Linked DNA regions of Homo sapiens: all the other regions are linked to region 1. Evidence: promoter capture Hi-C in human tissues and cell types (Jung and others, 2019). All regions are on one chromosome and are shown on one strand. The core of a region is centred on a gene start or on the middle of the fragment in contact, and the rest is flanking DNA. Distances in the headings are between cores, read along the strand shown. Region 1 holds the start of CRYBB1 (crystallin beta B1). Region 2 has its middle 8.7 kb from the start of ASPHD2. Region 3 overlaps ASPHD2 (aspartate beta-hydroxylase domain containing 2). Region 4 overlaps HPS4 (HPS4 biogenesis of lysosomal organelles complex 3 subunit 2).

Evidence for each region. Contacts are between HindIII fragments. The study calls those that stand out against the background at their distance.
Region 2: a contact is called between a fragment that was not itself captured here and the fragment with the promoter of CRYBB1 in region 1, in 1 of the 25 tissues and cell types used here (spleen).
Region 3: a contact is called between a fragment that was not itself captured here and the fragment with the promoter of CRYBB1 in region 1, in 1 of the 25 tissues and cell types used here (dorsolateral prefrontal cortex).
Region 4: a fragment that was not itself captured here is called in contact with the fragment with the promoter of CRYBB1 in region 1 in 1 of the 25 tissues and cell types used here (small bowel).

The regions. Positions count from the first base shown.
Region 1 is chr22:26,616,386-26,619,941 of GRCh38, forward strand. CRYBB1 (crystallin beta B1) reads right to left here and starts at 1,642. Exons shown (of 6, transcript NM_001887.4): 1 at 1,592-1,642. It also overlaps a transcript of CRYBA4 not described here. RefSeq lists enhancers at 696-1,373, 2,052-2,727. The HindIII fragment of the contact is 18,434 bases long and covers 1-3,556 here.
Region 2 is chr22:26,418,804-26,422,359 of GRCh38, forward strand. It overlaps the pseudogene RPS3AP55. Among named protein-coding and RNA genes, the nearest start is that of ASPHD2, 8.7 kb to the right of the region's middle. The HindIII fragment of the contact is 3,088 bases long and covers 148-3,235 here.
Region 3 is chr22:26,437,949-26,441,504 of GRCh38, forward strand. The region is part of intron 2 of ASPHD2 (aspartate beta-hydroxylase domain containing 2); the gene reads left to right. Among named protein-coding and RNA genes, the nearest start is that of ASPHD2, 10 kb to the left of the region's middle. RefSeq lists a silencer at 2,599-2,755. The HindIII fragment of the contact is 6,333 bases long and covers 1-3,556 here.
Region 4 is chr22:26,457,605-26,461,160 of GRCh38, forward strand. HPS4 (HPS4 biogenesis of lysosomal organelles complex 3 subunit 2) reads right to left here. Exons shown (of 14, transcript NM_022081.6): 12 at 841-973; 13 at 255-363. Among named protein-coding and RNA genes, the nearest start is that of HPS4, 24 kb to the right of the region's middle. The HindIII fragment of the contact is 4,986 bases long and covers 1-3,556 here.

The DNA.
Region 1 (3,556 bases), core at 392-2,891:
CTGCCCTCATAGCCCCACATCCTGTGCTTTCAGCCTCCTTGGAGCTCGTTTCCTCTCTATCTCCTTCTGAAACGGTTAAGCCTGGAAGTTTTTCTTTCATCCCTACTTCCCAGCCAAGACCTTCCCGTCTGGGGGCCACTCATCCCACATATATCCTTCCTCCAGGCTTTTGACCATGCGGTTCCCTCCACTAGCTGTTCCACCCTCCATTACCCCGCTAGGTCCTTCCTTAGCCCCCTGCAATTTTCCACACTGCTTATCACACTGATTTGCTTGTGCAACTCCAATTTGCCTCCCTAGACTAATAACAAGAAGTCCCATTTGGGAGTACTTAAGGTGTGCCAGGCACTGTGACATACATTAATTAACCCATCTGACCATGAACCTCACCCGATGGAGTAGCTGCTATCATGATCCCCTCTGAGCAGCAGGGGGCTGGAGAAGGAAGGGGCCCAGCTCAGGCCCAAACAGCTACTAAGTGGTAGGGCTCTGATTTCAACTCAAGGAAATGGAGCCAGCAACTGGGCTTTTAAAGTATTCTGCCATTTGCTTAATCTGATTTATTCACCGTCCATCCCTAACACTTGCTCTGCACCTGGCACATAGGAGATGCCCAATTAACATTTGTTCAGAGAATGAATGAATGCATGCTCCCAGCTCCTTTCCCCGTCTGCTTCCTCTGAGGGGTTGGTGTATGGGTGCAAATACAGGCCGGGGACTGAGGCTTATGGGAGGACCCAAGAGGATGTATTTACTGCATGTGGAGGGTTCTGAAAATGAGGACTGGGGCTGGGTAGGCTTTGGGTGGAGAGGGCTTTGGTCAATTCCAGTGGTTCCTTGTTGCTTTGGGGTCGTGGACTCCTTTGAATGTTTGATGAATACCTCAACTTTGTCCCCGGACAAAAATAATGCTCTCTTTAACTTTGGAGACAATGTTAAGGGATTTGAGGACCCCCTGCTAGCACAGATTAAGACCCTCTGGTCAAGCTGATTCCCGAACACATTCTGTAAGGCGGAGCTAGTTGGGATAAGCACATCCCTCCCCCAGCCTCCTCCAGGAAGGCTGTGCATATTCTGGGGTGCCCCCTGTTCACCAGGGGTGAGGCCAGACATCTGGACCACATCTGTGGCTTTAAACACTCCCCCAGGGCTGGCAGCTGGACTCATGCCTTCCTGGAGATATTCTCATTCTCTCTCTCTCCCTGCTTCACCCTCTCCCTCTGTTCCTCCTCTCTTCCCTGTCTTTGCCTCTCTATCTGTTTCTTACTTCTCTCCCTCTTTCTGCCTATCTGCCTGTCTGTTTCTCTCCCTCTCTGTTCCTCTCTCCCCCACTATCTCTCCCTCATTGTATCTTTGCTTATCTCTCTATCTGTCCTTTTTAATTATATTTACTTCTCTCTCTATTTCTGTCTTTTCTCACTCTCTCCCCTCTCCCTCTCCCTCCCTTTCTTCCTCTCTCCACTTCCGTCTTTATCTCCATGGCCCTGCTCTCTGACTCTCATGGCACTGCTATCTCTGCCTCCCTCTCTCTGTCTCCCTTTTCTCTTCCCCTCCCCTTCAGCTCTCAGCTGGGCTGTGGGTTCCCTCTTACCTGGGGACTTGCTACTTCCTGCTGGAGGACAGGCAGGCGGGCAGGTGCTATGGGTGACTAGAGTCCGACCCCCCATTTTATAGTCTGGCAGACATCAGGCCCTATAGTCTGTGGCACAAAGGGGAAGCTGGCTCAGCAGGCCTGGGCAGGGAGTGGGGGACTGGGGCCCTGACCTCGCCTGGATCACTGCAGACAGCAGCACTTTCCTTTGTGAGACCAGCACACACAGCAGAAACCCTGGCCACAGCAGCTTCACCTTCCAACCCTACCCTGACTCCTTTCTCAACAACCCCAGCCAGGGATGGGCCCCCAAAAGGGTCCCTGCTGGCTGCCAACATGGGGCAGGGAAAAGGGGAGACCCTGGGAGGCAGGAGACCAGAGTTTGAATCCTGACTCAGCCACTGCGCGCTGTGTGGCTTTTGGTAGGTCTCTACCCCTAGGGGGGCCTCTGTGTCTGCAATTATAAGGTGGGCACGTGTCCCTGTTGGATGCCATATAGAAAAGAAGGTGACAATGAGCACAGAAGCGTTTTGTAAAGGCAGATGTGGGTTTGATATGGACAGCCTTTTTTACGGAGTGCTTACTGTGTGCCGAACCCGTGTTATCTCGGTCAGTCCCCGGGACAATCTGCCTTATTTGGTACTTTCATTATGCCCATTTCACAGAAGAGGAAAGTGAAGGCACAGAGAGGTCAGAGCCAGCCCAGGCCAGCCAGCTCTGGGCCTGTGTGCTTTCTTCTCCTGCTGTCCAGCCTTGACCTTGGCCTGAGGCCCCCTGGCCTGACTTCCTCTTTGTAGGTTGGGGTGGGAATGGGAGAGTCGCACTGTGCTCAGCTGGGTTGGATATCGGAGACCTGGGTCTTTTTCTTTTCCCCACATTGGGCCCCATCCTTTCCTGACCTATCGACAGTGATCCCTCTCGCCACCCCAGTTCCCCGCCTCTACCCAGGCCACGTTATCTGACCTGGAGGACAGTGCTGGTGGCCAGAAATATGACTGCCTGTCCCAGAGCCTCCTGCCCTGGCAAGCCCCAGATGCCCACCACATCTTGTTCACCACTGGCCCCAGCACCTAGCTGGGCCTGGCTAGGTAGAGCTTGGCACATCATGGGTTCTCAGTCAATAACTGGTGACTCAATGGTGGTTCCAATGGATCGGAACAGAAGGTAGGGTACGGAGGAGATAGGGAAACCAAGGCAAGGAGAGAGAAGTAAGGAGGCAGATAGAAGTAACAGACAAAGAGAGAGGTGGAGACAGAGACACAGAGAGGCACAGGGGACATGGACAGTGAAGGAGCGAGAGACGGAGAGACAGAGGTCAAGTTGGGGTGATCAAGCCTCAGGACGGAGGAACAGACGCCAGAAATCACAGGGCCCAATCCTCCCATTTCACAAATGGAGAAACCGAGGCCCAGGTGGAACAAATGACTTCAACATAGTCACATGGCGGGAACTCACAGTACAGCTGGGGTCAGAAGGAGCCTGGGGAGCTGCTCAGCTAGGTCACCTGCAGTCGGCTCCCCAGTCCCAGGCAGGGTATATTGCGGGGGCATCTGGATAGGCTCCTGTCTCTTCTTTTTCGGGGTTCTAGGCTCCCCGTGGAGCCCAGCTCTGTCTTGAACTCTCCCTGGCCTGGAGCCAGCTTTGCCTCTGTCCCTCCACCACCCAGCACCCCCTCGCTTCCTAGCCTCTCCTTGGCCTTTCATCCTGGGCCAAGACTTGGTGGGTGGGGTGTGGGCAGGAACTGCAAGATGGGGTAGCCACTGGAACTGGGGCCAAGACGCCTGTGGTGAGGGCCCACCCACCAGTCTAGGCTTCAAAGCCAGGTCATCTGGGGCAGTTCCGTGCCCCCCCTAAAGCCCCAGGAATGGGCTGTCTGCCAGAGGGTGGGGGCAGAGAAGGGGGATGGCCCACCATGTTGGTGGCTCCACTCTGAGCATTTATTATTATTATTGTATCCTTCATTAT
Region 2 (3,556 bases), core at 442-2,941, 200 kb before region 1:
TGGCTTTTGTTTTTCCCCTTTTGACAGAGACGTGGGAGCAGAGAAATATTTCCTTACTATAAACACTCACACACACACACACACACACACACATTCATACACGTACTCATACATAGTGCAAAGAGGATGAGAATGGCAAGTGACAATTGTCACTGGAGCTGGAGAGCAAGAGGGATTGGGTGAGCACTGCAGCAAACCACACACCAGCCAATTTGCTGTTTTGCAGAAATCTGACCCAGGGTGACCAGATATTGCTGTTTTCCAAGAGAAACTGAAAATCTAGATTTTTATATGGTGTCTCCTAATTTTTAAATGTTGGCAATTTTTAAAACCCTGTGCAGGCCACATTAAGCATATCTTTGTGCTGGATTTAACGCAGAGGCTGCTGGTATACAATCACTGCTGTATGTTCAGTGGGCTTAGCATAGTATATGCTCAATAATTATATGTTGAATAAATGAATAGCCTTCCCAGTTGACTTCTCAGCATTTAGAAGTAGCTGACAGGTAGTTCACCTCCCCTCTGTTGGGAACATTTTTTAAAAGTAGATTCAGAACAGGAAGAAGCTTCTCCATTATAGCTGGAAGCTTTAAGGTATAGCTGCTCCTGGACTCAGACACAACCCATCAGAAATTTCTTGAAGATTACATTTCTGTATCACTCAGACTGGGGCTGGTGTATGAATCAGTAAGTAATGACATGGCCATGTCTGTTTTTTACAGCCAGCATCCGTTCTGATGGTTGGCACCATGGTGTACAGATTATTAAGTAATTTTAATATCACCCCCAACTGGGTGCAGAAATGGAAACCTATTACTGGTCATAGTCTGTTACCACCAAGAAAGGCTCATGGAGGTGGGAAATGATGCCTGTTGTCAAAACAAGATCTAGTTCACTTAGGTGTTGAATTCTATTCCAGATTTTATAGAGGGCTGCTTCTCTCAAATCTCTTATTGGAACCTGGCCACGCTTCTCATTTCTATTTTTCCATCTGGGAGACATACAGGCTCTCACACCTAGTTTCCATGCCCAGCCAAAGCTATTGCAAAGCTCCTAGAGAACATGGAATGACTGGAGACATCCGGATAAAGGTCACAAGGTGGAACAAGTGCAGGGTGACCCAGTGGAAAGCAGTGGTGGAAACAGGTGGATGGCTTTGGGAAGAGGTTCTAACTAATTCACTTTCCCCAGTGTATAAAAGCAAGCTTTTCCCCAGGCTTCACAAACAGCAGGCTCGTGTCTAGCTCTACCTACTTGCACGTAAGCAGGAAGTTCATCGTCTGTTCAAATGCTAAATAGATGTTAGCAGCACTTTATTGGATCAGCTCAAGGTGATTTCGATTTGTTCTGGGAACGCATTCATCATCTTATAACACATGTGTGTGGCTCTGCTTTCTGGACAGATAGAATTACTCATGTGTATGTGTCAACCAACCAAATTAAATCATCCAATGTGATAAACCCATTTGGAGGGCTATTCCCTTTCATTTATTCTAGGGAAATAATATTCTAGGCAAACTTATTTCCTAGAATTTGTGACTCAGGTTTAACTTCATATTTCCCAGAGCAAAGCTTCCCAACTTTTATTTGGGGCAGTGGTTTACAAAGTTATTTTAGTCCTGGGGTCTTTTATAATAGCTTCCAAATACAGAGGCCAATATATAAAGCTGAGAAAGGTCAAGCAGATCAGAGGGAAGAACTGGGAAACCTGGGCATTTCCTCTGCCCCTGTCTCTTGTTGCCGACGTGCGGGGACTACCAGGAACCTCTGGAAACACACTTGAAACAGCTGCACTTGCAAATCTCCAAATAGCTCAAGCTGTGTTGGAAACTCACAACTCAAACTTTCAAAAACAAAGGGTTAATTTTACCGTGTCAAATTGCCTTCTTATAATTTATAATCTCATAATATTTCCAACATTCCTAAAGAAAAATAGAACAAATGTTTATGTACCCATCACTCAACTTTATCAAATCTTAACATTTTGTTTTGGTTATTTTTAAAGGAGTAAAATATTACAAATATTGTTGAAGCCCCTTTATGTGCTCCTCCCAAATCTCATTCTCCTTTCCTCCTTCCTTCCTCCTCAGAAATAACCACTACACTGAACTCGTATTGATCATCCCCATGAAAGATTTTTCCTATAAATACATATTAATATATAGTTTCCCCTAGTGAGAATATGTATATATGCAGTGGCTCATGCCTATAATCCCAACACTTTTGGAGGCAGAGACAGGAGGATGTCTTGAGCCTAGGAGCTTAAGGCCAGCCTGAGCAACATAGCAAAATCCCATCTCTACAAAAGATCAAAAAATTAGCCAGGCATGGTAGCATGTGCCTATAGTTCCAGCTACTCAGGAGGCTGAGGTGAGCCCAGAAGGTTGAGGCTGCAATAAGCCAAGATCATGCCACTGCACTCCAGCCTAGGCAACGGAGCAAGACCCTATCAAACACTTACAAAAAATAATAATGTTGCAAACATCAATCTGCAATTTGCTCTTCTAGCTCAACATTGTGTTTTGGAGATTTATCCACCTTGATGCATTTAGCTCTGGCCCATGCACTTTAACTACTACATCATATTGTGTTGTATGAATTTTTTTTTTTTTGAGATGGAGTTTCACTCTTGTTGCCCAGGCTTGTGCAATGACATGATCTCGGCTCACCGCAACCTCCGCCTCCAGGTTCAAGCAATTCTCCTGCCTCAGCCTCCTGAGTAGTTGGGATTACAGGCATGTGCCACCATGCCCAGCTAATTTTGTATTTTTAGTAGAGATGGGGTTTCTCCATGTTGGTCAGGCTGGTCTCGAACTCCTGACCTCAGATGATCCGCCCACTTCGGCCTCCCAAAGTGCTGGGATTACAGGCGTGAGCCACCGTGCCTGGCCTGTTGTATGAATTTGTGTGTGCATTTTCCTTTTTATCAATGCTGCCTCAAATTTTTCACGAAATGTTGCAACGAACATTCTTGTGCATGTATCTACTCTGAAAACTTCTCTAGGACCCAGTGCAACACACACACACACACACACACACACACACAAACACAAAGTAAAACAAAGTTTCACAAAACAATTGTCTTACTACACTTTCAGAAACTTTGTCATAATGTATATCATAGTTCTTTTTATCAGGTTGACATTTCCCTTCCATTCCTAGTTTGCTGAGAGTTGTTAATCATGAATGGGTGTTGAATTTTGTCAAATTCTTCTTTTTTCACAAATAGGACTTTTTATTTCCCACTGATTATAAGTCCGAACTTTAAACAGATTCTTGGACTGGTGGTTCATATCCATCAGCTTGCTCATCTTTAGCACCTATCTTGTCCCCAGTGGCTTTTCCAGAACTACTTCCTTCACCATGAAGCTCCATGAGTAGTTTTTCCAATTCATACTTGGGCTTCTTCAGCATTTTTACTTTTCTTTTTCCTTTTCTTTTTTTTTATTTTTTATTTTTTGAGACAGAGTCTTGCTCTGTCACCACCTGCAGTGCAGTGGCATGATCTTGGCTCACTGCAACCTCTGCCTTCCGGGTTCAAGTGATTCTCCTGCCT
Region 3 (3,556 bases), core at 406-2,905, 180 kb before region 1:
TGAGCTCTTCTGCCAACTAAGCTGGTTTGTGGGCAACAGGCAGGAATGGGGGCAGGAGCAGAATGAAGGGGAGGCGGAGAACAAGAAGCAGGGGGGTGTCAAGCCAGCAGGCCAGGCCATTTTTCTATCGCACCGTGGCACGTGGCGATGAATCATTTAGTGGCCCAGAGAAAGGGGAGCTTCTTTCTGAAACCCCGGGGTGGCTGTCCCTGCAGAGAACTGCCCATTCCTAAAGGCCTTCGCCACCTGAACCAGCCAGTAGGGGCACACGCCAAAGGAAAACGTAGCCTCTGAGTCCCTCCATCTGGGCGTCTTTACAGCCCTGACTCCCCCAGCTGCTGTTAACCATAGTGGGAAATCATGGCTTCTGTCAGGATGAGCAGTCTCAGCTGATTTAATGAAATGTACTATTGAGAGTTGAAACATATTAGGGTCCTCTTAGAGGGACAGAACTAATAGGATATATATATACACACAGATATATACACACATACATATATATACATATATATACACACACACATATATATACATATATATAGATACACACATACATATATATACATACATATATATACATACATATATACACATACATATATACACATACATATATACACATACATATATATACATACATATATATACACACATATATACATATATATATACACACATATATATACATATATATATACACATACATATATATATATACACATACATACATACACACACACACACACATATATATATAAAGGGGAGTTTATTAAGTATTAACCCACATGATCACAAGGTCCCACAATAGGCTGTCTGCAAACTGAGGAGCAAGGAAAGCCAGTCAGTTTCCAAAGCTGAAGAACCTGGAGTCCGATGTTTGAGGGCAGGAAGCTTCGAGCACTGGAGAAAGATACAGGCTGGGAGGCTAGGCCAGTCTCACTTTTTTATGTTTTTCTGCCTGCTTTATATTTGCTGGAAGCTGATTAGATTGTGCCTGCCAGATTAAGGGTGGATCTGCCTTCCCCAGCCCACTGACTCAGATGTTAATCTCTTTTGGCAACACCCACATAGACACACCCAGGATTAATACTTTGTATCCCTCAATCTAATCAAGTTGAAACTCAGTATTAACTATCAGACATGTTAACTACAAGAAAATCAGCAATCAGGCCAGGCACAGTGGCTCAAGCCTGTAATCCCAGCACTTTGGGAGGCCGAGTCAGGTGGATCTCTTGAGGCTAGAAGTTCGAGACCAGCCTGGCCAACATGGTGAAGCCCCATCTCTACTAAAAATACAAAAATTAGCTGGGCACGGTAGTGCACACTTGTAATCCCAGCTACTCGGGAGGCTGAGGCAGGAGAATTGCTTGAACCCAAGAGGCAGAGGCTGCAGTGAGCTGAGATCATGGCACTGCACTCCAGCCTGGGCGACAGAGCACGATTCTGTCTCAAAAAAAATAATAATAAATAAAGAAAAATCGAAAACTCCACAATCACTTTAATTCCTCTGTTAATAGTATAACAACTAGCATTTATATCATCATGTCCAGTTTTATAACAGCCTGTTCTTTGGAGTCAGGCTGACTCAGCAACACTAAATGGTAACTTTTTAGCAGGTCATTTAACTTCTTAGTTACCCCATCTGGAAAGTGGGTGAAGTGATACCTGTTAAGTGTGTATTTAGCACAAAGCTGAGTAGGAAGACACAGTAGGTCTTCAGTTATTGGTAACAAGGATAGAAGTCCCATAGCAGCCCTGGAAGGTTCAGTATGCTAATGTCCCCTCTTTACAGGTGAGGGTATGGCTCAGAGAGGCTGAGTGACTTGCCCAAAGTCACACAGCACATAAGAGTCACAACCAGTCGTCTGTCCCCAAGTCCTCCGTCCTTCTGTCTCCTCCATGTGGCCTCTTTATTTGAATTATTACTGTGAACGTACTTCCTGGAACCATTATTTCTGGTTCAAAGAATACATTAAAATACTCTGGCTGCTGGAAGGAAAGCTATTTCATTTTTATGCTAAAGGACATTAAATCAGAGGGGAATGCCAACTGGCCCAGGGTCATTGTGGTCACAGTGAGTCACTGAAGACAGATGAGACCACCACCCATCCCAGCTCCTCTTCCAGGACTCTGCTTCCCCCTGGGTGGGCCTTCCTGAGAGCTGTTGGGCTGACCCAACCCCTTCTGAAATCATTAGATGGCCACGGTGGCCCCTTCTTTTCTGGACATCAAGGTAGTGATGGGGGCCAAGTGTTTCTGCAGACCCTTGTGTTGGAAAGGGCGACTGAGGGTCACACATGGCAGTGTTCCAACCGGACCCCACTGGCCGGTTGAAGCATACGGCTTATTTTTTATTTTTTATTTTTATTTTTGAGACAGAGTCTCACTCTGTTGCCCAGGCTGGAGTGCAGTGGTGCGATTCGCCCAGGCTGGAGTGCGGTGATGCAATCTCGGCTCACTGCAACCTTCGCCTCCTGGGTTCAAGCAATTCTCATGCCTCAGCCTCCCGAGTAGCTGGGATTACAGGCGTCTGCCACCATGCCTGGCTCATTTTGGATAATTAGTAGAGAGAGGGTTTCACCATGTTTGAGACCAGGCTGGTCTCGAACTCTTGGCCTCACGCGATCTGCCCACCCCTCAGCCTCCCAAAGTGCTGGGATTACAGGTGTGAGCCACTGTGCCCAGCCAAGCATACGGCTTCTTACAAAGCTGCCAGTCTATTTCCTCTTGAACCTAAGCCATTACCTTAGAAGTGTCCTCCAGTTTCCCAGAATGAGGGCAGACGAAGAGCACGCCATTCTCCAGCCTCAAAACGGATTAAAAGGCTAGAACCCAAGGAGGAGAACACTGTGTGAGCCTTTGATTTTTTAATCGCAACTGAGATAGTCCTAGAGGGGAGACTACAGTAAACACAGTTACTGGGTAAGGCAAGGTTCTAAACCCAACCTCCCTGGATTTCTGGGGGTCCCCTGGTTAGGCTTCAGAGTGTAGTGCAAATGTCAGTCTGTGACTTTCATAAAAGGAATCCATGACCCAGAATAGATGAAGCCAATGAAGGAATGAATTTTTGCCAAGAGTGCAGTGAAGATCTAGATGGTGGCTTATAAACAACAAAAATGTAGAACTCACAGTTCTGAGGCTGGAAGCCCAAGATCAAGGTGCCAGCAGATTTGGCGTCTGGTGAAGGCCTGCTTCTTGTTCATAAATGACACCTTCTCACTGTGACTTCACATGGTGAAAGGAGGTGGCCAGGAGCAGTGGCTCTTGCCTGTAATCCCAACACTTTGGGAGGCCAAGGTGGGAGGATAGCTTGAGGCCAGGAGTTCGAGACCAGCCCGGTCAACATAGCAAGACCCCATCTTTACAAAAAAAAGTTTAAATTAGCTGGGCATGATGGTGCACACCTATAGTCTCAGCTACTCAAGAGGGTGAGGCTGGAGCATCTCTAGAGCCTAGGAGGTGAAGGCTGCAGTGAACTATGGTGGAGCCACTGCATTTCAGCCTGGGCAACAGAACAAGACCTTGTATCTAAAAAAAAAAAAAAAAAAAAAAGATG
Region 4 (3,556 bases), core at 745-3,244, 160 kb before region 1:
ATGGTGAGGACCTCAGGTTCCTTCACTGCTGGACCCCAAGCGTCTAAAGTAGGAAGGGAACCAGAAAGTCCATGGCACGTGACTGCACAACAGTGGATGATGGCGGCAATAGGAACCGACAAAGGAAGGCCTTAAGGAGAGTAACTAGAATGTTTTTCATCTACTTAGGAATAAGGCGCTGCCTGGGCCCCACAGGTGGTTCCCATGAGCAGGACCGTGGAGAGTAGGTTGGGGAGCGACTCAGGGAGGCTCACCTGACAGTCATTTCATAAAGCGCGGGCAGCTGGGCAAATTCGCTATGCATCAGGCTGACGGCCTGGAGGAAGCGGCGATCCTGCGGGGTGGCCACCTGCGGCAGGTTTGCTTCCAGAAGAGGACACAGAGTTGTGAAGAGCAGACAGTTACCTTCTGCCCTCCCACCCCATGAAGCCCAGTACTGAACACGGGGACTGAGCACGGCTCAAGGCCATGAGTTGGCTGCCCGGGGCAGAGACAAAGGCCCGGGGCATTGGGCTTCGGCTGCCGCCGCTGTGCGATGCAGCACCCGGTTTCTGCGTGTGGATCTCAACATTCTGAGACAAACCCTATCACAGATATGTGAACATGAACTTCTCTCAAAACACTGGGAAACGCCAAAAACAGACACATGAGCAGAGAAGCGTCTGCCCAGTGAACGCCACACTCAGTGGGACTGGGCTCCCGGTGAGAAGAGAGCCCTGAACGCAGGTCAGACAACTCTGTGCACAGCCGTGTCATCATGATGCTGGGGCTCAAGTTCTCATCTCCACCCATCTAGAATCTGGCATCCCCGTCGCCCCAGGCCCCTTGGCTGGTTCTTACCCATCAGCAAGCTCTGAATGCGGTCGTAATGTGTGAAGTTGTAGGTGCTGCTCGTGGAGGCTGCCTCATCCCTGGGCAGCGTCTCTTTCAGGTGGACTTCCAGCCCATTCAGTGAAGCCAGGCTGCTGTGGTACTGCAAAGGGGGAGAGGGTCATGGGCTTGTAGGGCTGACCTCAGCAAGCCTTCTGAGGGCTAGTTAACCACAGACTTAGTTAAAAAAAAAATCCTCCAGCCAGGCACGGTGGCTCACACCTGTAATCCCAGTGCTTTGTGAGACCGAGGCAGGAGGATCACTTAAGCCAGGAGTTTAAGGCTGCAGTGAGCCGAGACCGCACCACCACACTCCAGCCTGGGTGATAGAGTGAGACTCTGTCTCGAAAAAAAAAAAAAAAAATCATTCATGGAGTATCTTACTGCCTACTTGATCCAGCAAAATGGACTCTCACCAACATTTTTCTTTCACCCTTATGTTCTAATGTTTTTAAAAATAATGATTATATTGTAGGAGATTTAGAAAAGAGATGAGCAAAAAAATAACAAGAAAACAACCCATCATTTCACCATCCAGTAATAGCCACTGTCACCACTGTGGTGTATCTTATTTTAACCATGGCTTTCCTACCCAGGCTGCATGATTTCACAATACAAACAGCCTGGGACCATCCCGCATTGTTTCTCACTGGCCCTGGGTACAGAAGTCCCTCACTGGATGTAACACGGTAACTTCTCTCTGCTACACCTAGCACGGTCCTGGCTTTCTTGGAAGGACTGAGTGTCAGTCAAACAGCTTTCTGCACTTGATGGTTCAGAAGAGGAATACAGTTGAGGACGACTGTCAAGGAGATGGGTTCAAGTACCTGTATTTTTACAAACCTCCAAGGAGATAAAGTTTAAGTACAATTGAAAAGACTGGACTAAACTGTTTTGTGTAACTCTTTTTCTGTAAAATAAAAATGAGATCAAATCATAAATAATGACTGATAGTTTTTTAACCTAACAACACAGCATGAACTGCTTTTCTCGTCTTTAAATATTCTATCATATAATTCTTTAATGGCTGTGCAGTGTTCCTCAAGCTCCACTGAGGGCTTGACTCAGTAGGCCAGGCCTGTCATAATAGGCTTGGTCTGAAATGGGGTTTCCTGGGCCTGCTTCAGCCACAAGAAAGAAGGTCACTGTCCCCAAACATTTGCAGTTCCCAGGTAAAAAACATCCCAAGTTCAGCCTCTTTTTAGTCAAATGACCAGGAGCAAGTTACCAAGTTTTCTGTGCCTCATTTTTCTAGTCAACTGCAAAATGGGAACAGTACGGGACTATTGAGTGACTTAAATGAAATGACACATCCAAAAGTCCTTTGTAAACTCTAAAGTGCTATCCTGAGGCAGAGTCTTTTTATAAAGTCAAGGAAATGAAAATAATCATATAAAAGAAATGGTGTCTCTTTAGAGATCACAGATAATTTGTGGACTATTTTTCAACAGCTATGTAAGAAAAATAAGTGCATATAAAAAGTACAGAGATGCAAACAGAATGCTTCTGAAGTAAATGTCATGAAGCTTACATGTTATTTTGGGAGTATATTGGTGTTAAATCAGTTTTCCTGTATGAAAGTCTCAGAAATGATATTTCAAGTCAATAGGTGTGACATACAAAGTTATTTTCTATGCGCTCAGTTTTGTATCCTCAATGCTTAGTAGAGTGTCTGACTCCTAGTAGGTGCTCAATAAATGAATCCACTAAATGAATGAATAAATGAACACATCCAATGCCAAGCACTGCCAATTTATGAGCTATTTGGTTTAAACCAAGGTTGCAGAGCTATGTAAAAAGATATGTGCTCAGGAAAGACAATCATAATATCTCATGTTCAGATCACTGAGAGAGCCTGACCAACACTGCGTTTAACACTGAGCCTCTTATTTGAACAGATGTGTGTGTGTGCATGTGCCGACACGCACACGGGCACACATAAGCATTCACCTGATGAAGTCAAACCACAGCCTCACTGAAAGTTTTTGGACCTCAAGAACGTGCTAACAGTCATCCCTTCCATGCTGAGCTGGTGTCCAGAGGAAGAAACAATAAGAACAGAGAGTGAGCCATGCCAAAAACTGTTTCCCCACAGGCACGGAGCTTTGCTTCCAAAATCTTCTGCCTAACTTGCACTCAAGATAGGATCACTTAACCATAAAAACACAGTTAATCACAAGATGCTATGTCAGATGACATGTGGATAATTTTTACTGATAACCAAGTGCTTTCATACATACCAGGGGTCAGCAAACTCTAGCCTATAAACTAAATCCAGCCTGTTGCCTATCTTTGTACAGTCTGAGACCTAAGAATGGTTTTTATATTTTTTTACTTGGTTGGGGAAAAAAGTCAAAAGAATAATATTGTAACATGTGCAAATTATATGAAGTTCCAATTCCATGTCCATAAATAATTACTGGAATACAGTCATACCATTTATATACTGTCTATGGCTGTTTTTGTACTGCAACAGCAGAGCTGAAAAGCTGTGCAAAGCTGAAAATATTTGCTTTCTGGTCCTTTACATAAAATGTTTGCCAGCCACCGATATATACTGCTACATAATGTGATCCTCACAACAGCCCTAGGCAACACAGAGCTGAGGCTAATTCCCGGGTCCTCTGACTTCTAGTGCACACGAAAGCAAGTGGCACAAATGTCAGTGTGTGACACAGCGTGCAGC